Linked DNA regions of Homo sapiens: all the other regions are linked to region 1. The links are contacts of gene promoters, found by promoter capture Hi-C in blood cells and fetal thymus (Javierre and others, 2016). All regions are on one chromosome and are shown on one strand. Each heading gives the region's core, a stretch centred on a gene start or on the middle of the fragment in contact. The rest is flanking DNA. Distances are from core to core; before and after follow the strand shown. Region 1 holds the start of ROR2 (receptor tyrosine kinase like orphan receptor 2). Region 2 overlaps LOC105379829 (a long non-coding RNA gene). Region 3 holds the start of LOC105376143 (a long non-coding RNA gene). Region 4 has its middle 86 kb from the start of LINC02957.

What was found. The method cuts DNA at HindIII sites, captures the fragments that hold promoters and counts their contacts. A CHiCAGO score of 5 or more calls a contact.
Region 2: a contact is called between a fragment that was not itself captured here and the fragment with the promoter of ROR2 in region 1, in 2 of 17 cell types (M2 macrophages and M0 macrophages). The highest score is 5.7, in M2 macrophages.
Region 3: a fragment that was not itself captured here is called in contact with the fragment with the promoter of ROR2 in region 1 in 6 of 17 cell types (M1 macrophages, M0 macrophages, monocytes and 3 more); the score reaches 11.9 in M1 macrophages.
Region 4: a contact is called between a fragment that was not itself captured here and the fragment with the promoter of ROR2 in region 1, in 3 of 17 cell types (M0 macrophages, monocytes and M1 macrophages). The highest score is 11.2, in M0 macrophages.

Annotation. Positions count from the first base shown.
Region 1 is chr9:91,948,853-91,951,552 of GRCh38, forward strand. It overlaps ROR2 (receptor tyrosine kinase like orphan receptor 2), which reads right to left and starts at 1,376. Exons shown (of 9, transcript NM_004560.4): 1 at 1,015-1,376. The coding sequence starts at 1,111. RefSeq lists enhancers at 167-668, 669-1,168 and silencers at 1,362-1,541, 1,655-1,949. The HindIII fragment of the contact is 6,243 bases long and covers 1-2,700 here.
Region 2 is chr9:90,947,296-90,949,995 of GRCh38, forward strand. All of the region lies in intron 1 of LOC105379829 (a long non-coding RNA gene), which reads right to left. Among named protein-coding and RNA genes, the nearest start is that of LINC02957, 48 kb to the right of the region's middle. The HindIII fragment of the contact is 4,284 bases long and covers 1-2,700 here.
Region 3 is chr9:90,931,030-90,933,729 of GRCh38, forward strand. It overlaps LOC105379829 (a long non-coding RNA gene), which reads right to left. Exons shown (of 4, transcript XR_001746828.2): 3 at 1-1,027. It overlaps LOC105376143 (a long non-coding RNA gene), which reads left to right and starts at 1,922. Exons shown (of 3, transcript XR_001746829.2): 1 at 1,922-2,010; 2 at 2,141-2,244. The HindIII fragment of the contact is 3,910 bases long and covers 1-2,700 here.
Region 4 is chr9:90,909,981-90,912,680 of GRCh38, forward strand. No RefSeq gene overlaps it. Among named protein-coding and RNA genes, the nearest start is that of LINC02957, 86 kb to the right of the region's middle. The HindIII fragment of the contact is 2,529 bases long and covers 1-2,527 here.

The sequences.
Region 1 (2,700 bases), core at 126-2,625:
CCCCGCAGGGTGCCGAGAATCCGGCCCGAGGCGCGCGGGCGGGAGGTGCTCCCGGAGTCTGCACCGCCAGAGCTAACGCCGCCTCCTCCAGGCAACCTAGGCAGGTCCCAAGCTGCACTTCCGAACCTCCCCGCCGTTCCTCTGCGCCCCGGATCCAAGCAGCCGAAACCGCGCAGGGACTCGGGGGAAGTGGGGCCCCGGGAGGAAACCCACCTAGGAGCCGGGCCCCGCCCCTCCCGCCGCCAGCCTCCTACAGGTCCCGGGGGTCCCCCCGGCGCGGCCAGAAGGCGGCCGCGCCCCAGCCGCTCAGGGACCCGCGATCCCAGTCACAAACCATTTCAATCCAGATCACACACCACTTCGGCCACCCCAGAGCGGTGGGGGAGAGGAGGTTTCAGGGACCAACAAAAGGGATGCCAAAGAGCCCGTTTCCATCAAGCGGCCCGCGGGCTGGGAAAGTCAGGACCCGGGAGCCGCCGGCGCCCCCACCCCCGCCGCAAGAGCCGCTTCTCCGGGGCCACGTCCACCCCAGGATTCTGCCAGGCATCAGGCCGCCCTGGGGGTGGGGGGACGCTCCGAGACAGACGGGGGACACTCGGGGCCGTGTGCCCTTGAAGGAGGAAGACCTCGGGGAGGAAGCCCGGGTCCTGGGACCCTCGGGGCACATCTGCGGACTCGGGTCCCGGGCCCAGGGCGGGTACTCACATTCACACTCGCACTCCCACTCGCGACCCTCGGGAAGCGCCACCGAGAGGCTCCCAGCCGCCGCCGCCCGCCCCCAGACTCTGGAAACACTTAGGCGTCCCCAGAGCGCGGCTTATTGTAACCAGCCCGAGGGGGTCCGGGGTGCGGGCCGGGAGCGGCGTCGGGCGAGATGCGAATGGCCCTGCCTGGCGCCCCTCGTTCAGGAGCATGGGCGCCGGCGCAGCGGCCGGGAGCATAGTGGCGGCGGAAGGGCTGGCCAAGCGAGCCGTGAGCTACCGTCTGCGCACAAGCCGGAACGCCAGATCCTACCTGAAGTCCGGGACACTGAGAGCAGAAGCGCGGCGGCCGCCCAGACGGCCGGGATGCACAGCAGCGGCCGCCGCGGGAGCGCCGAGCCCCGGGCCATGCCGCAGGCAGTGGGGGCCGGGAAGCCCTCAGAGCTTCGGGCCGGGGCGCGGGGTCGGGCGCCACCACCCCTTTCTACGATGCGTCCGCTCCTCCTTCTCCCTGGCGCTTCGCAAACGGGTCCACTTCGAGGACCTCGTCGTCGTCCTCTTCTCCGGCCCGGATGCGCCGCTCGGCTCCGGCCACGGCAAGGGCTGGCTGGGGAGGTTCCTTGGCGCGGGCTGGGGCGTCCCGCCGGCCGCCAGGACGAGCGCGGGGGGCGGACCGCGGGCGAGCGCGCAGGAGGCAGGGTCCCCGCTCGCCCGCCCCGATGGGCAGAGCGAGGCTTGCGCCGGCGCCCCCTGCCGGGGGAACGCGCGGGCGGCGGGCGGGACCCAAGGAGCTGGGGCTGCAGCTGGGGCCCCGGACCTGCCTCCTGCGCCCGCCCTCGGGCCTGCGCCTCGGAACGCTTGAACACAAAGGTGGCGCCTTGGGGGCGTCAGCCGGAGTTCGGCGGGTCTGCCCACGCAGGAGAGGCGCCCAGAGCGGGTGCCCCCGACTTTCGGGGGCGACACACCCGGGGATCTAGGTCACAAATCAGTAACTCCAGGCTGCACTGCGCACCGGGACAAATCTGAGAGCCACCCAGCCCCAGACACCAGCGGTGAGGCAGGAAGAGGAGAAGCGAAAGTTGCAAAAGGAAATGTTCAGGAAAACAAACAGGCCGCCTTGGCACCGGCGCCCTCCCAGGTCGGTGGGGACAAGCGCGTCCCCCGAAATGCTCAAAACTGCCAGGGGTCGAGCTGCGTGGAGGGAGCCCTCGGGAGCGCGATGCTATCCGAAGCCACCGCGGCTTTTGGTTTACTGTTAAAAGCAAATTGTATAATTTTACCCATTAAAGGCAGAACACTATTTGTTCTCTGCAGAGGCCCAGAATGTGCAGAATTTGCTTCACTTATTAGAGACATTTTGAACGGAATTCAAATAGCATGTTTTCTTGCTTATTCTTGGTTTTGCTCAGCACATGCAAATGTCTTTGTTTTTCCTCTTAGAGGAAGGAATTGGATTCTCCAGCATCTCAGTTGCTTGTTCCATGAGATTGATCTTTTAACTGATTATCCAGCAGTTTGTTTGGTGTTTTTGCTGGAGTACCAAGCTCTGTTAATTGGAGGGCATTAGGGAGAGCCCTGGCCTTGGGTGCCAGACGTGAGGCCTCAGACGTGGCCAGAAATAAAAACTCTCTTGCTATGGTCTGCGGACAAAATGACTAAGCCAGCTCTAGCTTGTTACCTCTGTTAAAAGTATTTAGGCGTCCGGCTATCTCTACCCAATTTGTGTAGGGAAATATCTCACGCAGTTCTCATTCCCAGGAGCTGCTGTAAATCCAGTAGGAGAATGGGAGAAGATCCTAGCCCCTCCTCAACTGGATGGCAAAATTATTACCAAACTTCTTAGACGGGCTCAGGCTGTTCCTCTGCCCAGGCTGGTGCGGGTCTGAACGGGGGGGCTGCTCTCCCCAGTGGTTAGAGGACTGCCAGGGGTTTATCTTTGGGGTTTTCCTCCCTTTAGCTTCCCTTAGAATCCTTAAGGATGCTTTTAGAGTAATGTTTT
Region 2 (2,700 bases), core at 64-2,563, 1.0 Mb before region 1:
ATGTCCAAGGCAGATGGCCATGCAGTCGTGAAAGAAAAATCTTCTCAATAAGTGGTAGTGGCTTTGCTTCAGATCCATATGGAAATAAGAGAAAATTGCTACCTTATACCACACACACACATTTGCAGGTCTAAATATGAAAGTCAGAACACATCTTTTGAATAAAAATGTAAAAGAATATCTTCTTGAACATTGGCTAGAGAAAGACTAATTAAACAAGCAGTAAAATGCATGACCCATACAAGGAAAAACTTGATAAATTATTCTACAATAATTCTAAGACCCCCTAGTCATTGAAGACACCAGGAAGAAAGAAAAACGTAAGCAGCAAAGTGGGAGGAGATATTTGTAGTGTGTTTAACTTGAAGAAGATTTCTGCAAATTATTAAGATAATGACAACCATGTAGAAAATGAAACAAGAGACTTCAAATGACCAATAAAGATATGAATAGGTAATCAAGGAAAATTAAATGAAAATCACCATGCCCCATGCATCAGAATGGCCAACACAAAAAAGCCTGGCAGCACCAAGGCTTTGGTTGAGGTGTAAAGTTATAGAGCCCTACCACCCTGGAAAGGGTTTAAGTCAGTACAACCACTTGGAAAGACTGCTTGGTGTAAATTATTAAAACCAAGGTCATGAAGAATGGAGGACCCAGCACATTTACCTCTGGGTATGTCGGTTCCGAACAGCATTGCATGGACAAGTACACCAAGAGGTAAATACAATTCTTGTGGCAGCAGTGCTTTCTACAGCCCCTAATTGAAAATGATCCAAATGCAAATCAATAATAAAGATGTATTCCTAGGTATGGAACTACACAAGAATGATCTACAGCTAAACATCATAGCAAGCCAGATACACCAGAACGCTTGCTGCACAATTTCATTAAGATAAAGATCAAAACCCAGCAAAACTAAGTCAACTATTCAGTTGCTAAGGGACAGCAAGGAAATGATTTCTATAAAAGTTGGGATAATTGTTACCTTTCGGGGCAGGTCCTCTGGGAGTGGCAAAGTTATCCTTTCGACCTGAGTACTGGTTATGCAGGTTTACTTTGTGGATAAATTATCTTGGTCCTGTGTACTTTTCTGGTTGTATTTTATATTTCACCATAAAGAGAAGATAAAAGGAAAATTGACACTCAACCCTCATTCAGTGAAGCCTTTGGGAATAGGCTCTGCCTGGTTTTTTACACTCCATGCCAACATCGACACGAGTGTCTACATATAGACGCTGCTGCATTTCCTTCTAGGTGCTGGATCTCATGGCTGATCATGTCTCTGGGTTTGATTTCGGCACACAAAGCTAAGCACTACCTGGATGCAACTGCAACCATTCAGGATGCAACTGCAAGCCCTTCTGTGAGACAAACTTACTTTGGGCTTTATTATTTCTTCTACTCCTCATTTTTCTATAAAACTTCCTCAGTGATTCATTTGATTCTTTCTTGTTATATATACGTATATTGTGATAAGTAATGTTGCTTCAGTTTGTGTAAGTAGCACTGTCTTTGCTATCTATTGTTATTGCAAACAACAGCCCTACAATTTACTGAATTGAAACAATGACAACTGATTATTCCCCATGACTTGGCAATCTGGGCTGAGCTCAGCTGGGCTGGGTAATAGTGTCTGATGTGGTTGGAACATCCAGGATGGCTTCTTCACTTGGCTGGGAGCTGCCTGGACATCCTTTCTCTCCATGTGGCCATTTTCCCAGATGGGTAACTGAATTTCCTTACCTGAGGCTCAGCACTGTAAGAGAGGGTGTCCCAGGAATATAAGCCCAACCTGCATGCTCTTATCAAGCCTGGGCCATGCTTTCTGACATCCACTGGCCAAATCAAGTCAAAAGCCAAGGTCACTGGGAAGGACAGCACAAGGCGGTGAATATCAGGGATCATCAGGGCCACGAAAATAAGCCCATCACGGATACATGGGAATAATCAAATGCATATATTCAGAAATGCATAGAGCAATAAAATAACTTGGAAAATATTTCTGTATCTCTGTAAAAGTTTTCCCTTGTTTGTCAATTTGACCAACAGCTTACTAGTGATCAAATCTCTACCAGTTTTAGCACATGTTCTCCATTTGCAGCATGACTGCTTAGAAAGTTTTCCCTAAGATTAGGCATTTTTATGAACACTGTGATGCTCATAAACCTCAGAGGTGGGAGATCCAAAATAAGTCTCAGGTCCCAGGGACCTAACATTAAAGGACACAGCTCCTCCAAAAAATGTGCAATGGGAGGAGAATTGAGGTGCCATGGGCTTGCCCAGGGCCTGGGCACTCCAGTTACCTTCCTGGAAGGCTGGCTCTGACCTCAACACCTTTCCTGAACTTCTCAGAGCAATCTCCTTGCTGCATTGTCCCCTCAGCCTGCCCCACTACTAGAAATCCCTGTCTTGGTATTTTGGTATTTTGAGATGAAAACCACAGAAGACAGTAGGAACTGCTGGGAAATTCACCTGAACAAACAGGACGTGAGAAAGCCCAGAAATAAGGCATCATCCTTAGACGAGGGGGCCATGCAGTCTGGGGAGGAAAGTGTCTGGACCATTCAAAATCTGGATTGCAAATCTTCCATCACCCCGCAGCTACTTCCTTTGTAACCCTCTGGAGCACGCTTCCTTCTCCACTTTCCCTCATAAGCATTTCTACATTCAGTGCCTGTAGATGGGGTGGCTGGCCAG
Region 3 (2,700 bases), core at 143-2,642, 1.0 Mb before region 1:
ATTTCTGCACTCAAGATTGTGTTCCATTGTGCAAAGAGCTACTCTAGGCAGCCTAGTGGACATGCCGGATGACTCCACCCATGGTGCTTCCAGCAAGAAGTTAGACAATGGAGTGGGGAGAAAGGATGCTGGGCTTCCTCTGGCTCTCAGATCACCCACCTTTATTATGATTAGGAAATTGGAAAACCAGCCACAACCAAATGCTTCAGGAATACCTCGCCTTAGGAGCTAGGGACCAAAAAGAGGCCCAGAACTATGAGTGTCTGCTACTTGCTCATGAGCAAAATGGCTGCTCCAAGCCCTGCTCTTGACACTCACAGAGCCACTGCCCAGAAATCAGGACCTCTTGCTAAAACTGCTGCAGAAAACCAGGACCTCTCCACTGTGCTTCACAATGGAAATGGCAGACACGGCAAAGCGCAGCCCCCACTCCCTTCTGTCCTGTAAATGGCAAGTAAGTGCACCTAGTCAAAATGAAATAAAATCAGGCCCAGAATCTAGCTGCAAGGGAGTTTGGAGAATGTCATTTTTAGTATTACAACTTCTGCACACAGGCTGGAGAGTAGAAAGCGTGCAGAGCTCTGGTCCGCCAGGATCCAGTGCAACTCAGAGTGCAGATGCATTGATTTCCAAACAAGAATTGCTGTCAATTGACTGCAGGGTAGACCATAAGCATTCCGGGTCTCATGGGACCGCACTTGTCTCTCTTCTTTGCCTGCGAGATCTCCCCCAGCTCCTGTACTCAGCAGTAGTCACCCCTGCAGTAGGTACTGTGAAGGAGGATGCTGAGGTCAAGGAAGAATCTTCAGCCTCAGAAATGTCTTTGATTGTGAAGTCACAGAAGCTGCCTGGGTGGCAGACTGCTTGTGCACTCCTGTGCAGATCAGGGGCTGCAACCCAATTCTTGCCCCACAGCAGGTCAGTGAGAAGGCAGACCTACAAATCAGCATGTGCTTGCTTCATATGATTTGTCTCATTTAACTGGCCAGACAGCTGAGGCTTAAGTGGTGTTATCAAAATACCAAGGCTGAAATAAATCAACATAACAGAGTTTTAGAACAAATAATCAATATAAAGATAATTAAAAGTAAATACATAATCTGAAATAATTTGGGGGAAATAATTCAGGAACAGAATGAAGAGGGAAACCCTCAGGTTCTCCTCGAAATATTGTAAGTGAGTCAGAAAACAGGACCAGTAATGGCAGAGGCAGAAGAGCGGCAGGAGACGGCGGTTACCCCACAGCAGAACGCTGCTCTGTGAGAATCCCCCAGCAGGTACCCCATTCCAGCTGTGGTTCGCCTACAGGCAGTCAGCCTCCCTGAACCTCTGCAGAGGGCAGGGATAGTAGATCTGCCCTTTAAGACCCATGCAGAGGTGCTGAAATGACAGTATTGGTACTCTGGATACAATGGAAAGTTCATTAGGGCTGATATTAATGGTAGTCACTGTCATATTTTCAGTTGCTTTCAGCAGTATTTGGGCCCCAGGATACTGATGTTTGCTCAATACATGAGCCTGCAGAAGTAACTGGGAGCAAACACCTGATATCAGTATTAAGCATGTGGTGCCGAGAACAATATGTTACAGAATACTGCAGACCCACTTAAATCATTCTTTTGTCTAAGAATGTGGGGTGTTCAGTGGATAAGTGAGAGTCCATGGATTTTGCTCTATGGCTGATGAAAGGAACGTGATGTGTGACATTTAGCACCGGTGTCAGGAATGGCTCTCCTGTTGGCAAACTTATTTCGCACGTGCCTATTCATCATCTATCCTGGGCACCTCACTCAGGTCCTCATGAGTCCCCTGTCTTCTCAGCAAGCATTACCTCTCTACTCAGACCAAGGCCTTGTGAGGGATGGAGGGTCACTAAGATGCACTTCCTGTCCTGAAGACATTGTCAGTCTCCTGGGGAAGACGGACTTCAAGAGAACAAAGACGAACACTGGATCCCTACTGGATTTGGAGGTCTACAGAGAGGGCTGCATTTTGTCCAGAATTTGGAAGGTAAAAATGGCCAGAAAAATGCAGAGAGGGAGGTTCTAACCCAAAGGAGCTTTATCAGTCAGATGTTCAGTATGGTGCTGCTGTAACCAACAGTTCCCTTGGAACTGACACGTGTCATATGTTTCCCCAGCTTATCAGACACAGGGGCCAGGAACAGAAGCCTCCCACAAGCCCAGAAGGACATACTTAATGCACAGCACTGATTGCTACAGGGACCAAGATGGGGACTTACAGGTGCATTTGGGGAAGAGGGCACTGGCCAGAAGGCCAAATCCACGCAAGGTGTGGGTTTGGGGAGGAGGGATGTGTCATAACAGAGTTCCCAGGAACAGCCTCTGACTTGTGCATAGGCAGTAGACTGGGGGTGCCCCGAGGGTCAATGCCCATAGGGAGTAAGGAGACAGGACTGGGTAGCAGGAGAATTTGAGCTGTGGAGGCCCAAGGAAAGGCTCAGCTGGGGGCACTTCAGGCTTGTCCTAATGCACCAGGCTAGACCTTCGTGCACCTCCTAAACCAGCCATTGGATGGGGGCAGCTCAAGGATGGGGTAGAACCTGGCTGAGGGCAGGCCCTGGGGAGGGCTCAGCTAGAGACTTCAGTAGCATTGCTCCAGCAGGAGGCGGATGTGGGTGCCAGCCACAAAGGAGTGTCCTATGGAGCACTATTGTCTCCAGCACAGAAGAAAGCCAGG
Region 4 (2,700 bases), core at 13-2,512, 1.0 Mb before region 1:
CTTCAAGGTCTTGTTTTGCATGCCGGTCCCATGTCTCCAGCATCCCCTGAATCCAGTGACACCTAGTCCTCCCTGTCAGCTTCTCCGCCAGTAGTAGTCTGATAGGGCTGCCAAGACAAAGCAGTGCAAACAGCAGACATTCATGGTCTCAGCTCTGGAGGCTGGAAGTCTGAGATCAAAGTGTTGGCAGGATTGATTCCTTCCGAGGCCTCTCTTCTTGACTTGCAAAGGCCTTTCTCCTGTGTCCTCCTGCAGTCCTACTCCTGTATGACCTTATCTTAGCAAATTACATCAGCAAAGTTCACATTCTGAGGTTCTGGGAGTTGGGACTGTAACATATGTTTTTGGCAGGGAGTTGGGGGCAGACATAATTCATCTCATATCACTGTGCGGATGGACCCTGTCCTTCTGTGCACTGCTTCATCTCAAGTGCCTGTGAATGGCATACCCCCAGTGGACCCAGATTAAGGCCTCACTCCTAGCTCAGAGAGGATTCTAGGTGACTGAGTGTGGTTGGTTCCCTCAGAGCTGGACCCTGGGGCTGTGCAGCAAGTTGGTGAAGATGCCTTCTGAAGACCTAGGGGGAGCAGGAATGAGGCTGGGGCCTTCCAGGGGACTGGCTTCATTGGTCTTGGCCTTGGGTGGCCCCTGCACATCAGGAGGAGGGGATGCACAGGCCCGCCCACCCTGAGTCATTCTGGGTAAAGTGGTGTTGAATCGTGTGCCCTGGAAAGATGTTGAAGTCCTAACCCCAGTATCTGTGGATGTGGCCTTATTTGGAAATAGGGTCTTTGCAGACCTATAACTTATCTTAGATCAAGTTAAAACAAGGCCATAAGGTGGTCTCTAATTTAGTAGGACTCTGTGTCCTTAGAAGATGGGGAAACCTGCATAGGCATACACACTGGGAGACATGAAGACACGATCTGCAGGCCAAGAAGAGAGGCCTCAGAAGAAACTCCCAACTTCCAAACTGTGAGACAATCAACTTCTGTAGCTTAAGCCGCCCAGTCCCCACCACCAGAAAGTGAATCCAGGTATTGACAGGAAGCCCCAGGTCGGCTGCCCCACCATGCTAGCCATGCCCCCACCTCCCCGGGCCCCTGAGGTAAGTGCACAGGGAGACTCCGGAAAGGGGGCGAAGGACTCCAGGGCTCACAGTTCACACCTCCCTGTACCTGACAATTATTGGAATCTTATTGAAAAGCAGATTCTGCCTCAGTGGGTCATAATGAGTCAGCCAGGTTGGAGGGGGTCCCTCGAGAAACTCCTACCAGCCTGTCCACTGAGGTGGAGCCTCAGGAAGTTCATGATGTTTGCAGCTGGGAGGAGCCTGGCCCTTCCTCTTCGTGTGCAGAACCTGAGATTTGAATGGCAGCAGGAAGCCCTCTAGCAGGGACTCTGGCCTCGCAAGAGTCCTCATTTCCCCCTTTTCTTCTTTTTTATCCAGTAAAACCCTGCTTTACTCACCCTCTCCAACTGCCTGCAAGCCTAAATTTTCATGGCCGTGGGACAGACAAGGACCCAGTCTTTAGCTGAACTAAGGAAAGGTCCTGCAACAGTGGAGGCTGGGGGGCTGCATTTCTCTCAGCTCTTGGGTGATGTAGATGGGGCCCTACCTGACTACAGGCACTGGGCACTCACCTGTGAAAGTCCATGAGGCTGGCTCCTGGTTCTGGGCTGTGGCCTGGCAGCTGTCTAAAGCCCCTGGGCAAGTCAAATGAGCAGCTGGTTTGAGACCCAGGGCCTTCAGGAGGGAGACACTTCCAGGGGTTCAGGTGGTAAGCACTCCAGTTCTGTGGGGCCTGCACCTCCTCCAGTCTGGGGCCATTTGTAAGAATAGACAAATGTGAATATACCACCACTCAGGAAGCTGCAGGAGAGAGGTTGCGGCTCAACGGCCTGTGGCCAAAATGCCTCACTTATTCTCAAATATATAGAGCCCCACCTCCAGCAGAAGCACCCCTGTCAACCCTGGCCTCTGGCAGGAGGTCCAGCCTATGACGTGATGCTGCAAGTTGGTTTAACATCTCACCAGAAGAAGTCTGACCAGAGCCTGAAGCTGAGGGGAGCCCAGCGTGGCACCACGTCTCCCGCTCCAGCGCCGTCCCTCTGGCCACCAGCCCAGGTCACAAGCACCAAATATATATTCATGTGATCATACATCCTAGGAAGAGGCAGAAGAGGGCCCCCAGCCTGAGTGCTTTTAGCTGTACAATAACCCTCCCATAGCCATGAGGCAGGGCCACTGGGAGGAGCACTCAGGACTGAGCCGAAAACGTTCCTGGGTTCTCCCAGAGCCTGAGGGGGGGTCTGCTCATTAGGGCCCTGAATTCTTCTGGTGAGATGTTAAACCACCTTGTAGCATTACGTCATAGGCTGGACCTCCTGCCAGAGGCCGGGGTTGATGGGGGTGCTTCTGCTGGAGATGGGGCTGTGCAGGTGTGTACAGCTGTGCACATCTTGGGCCACCTGGGGCAACTCTGCTGGATCACATTAGCTCCAGAGCCCCTGTGAGGGTATCCAAAGCTTCTGTTCACTTCTGCTGTGGCAGGCATGGACGCCAGGGGCTGTCCTGGATGAACCCCTGATCTCCACTGCCTCCCAGAGCCAGCTTCCCAGGACCAGCTGCCACAAGCTGCTTCCAGCTCTGTGGGGGGAGCTGGACGCTCACCCATTTTGTGCTGTGTGCTGTGCGTT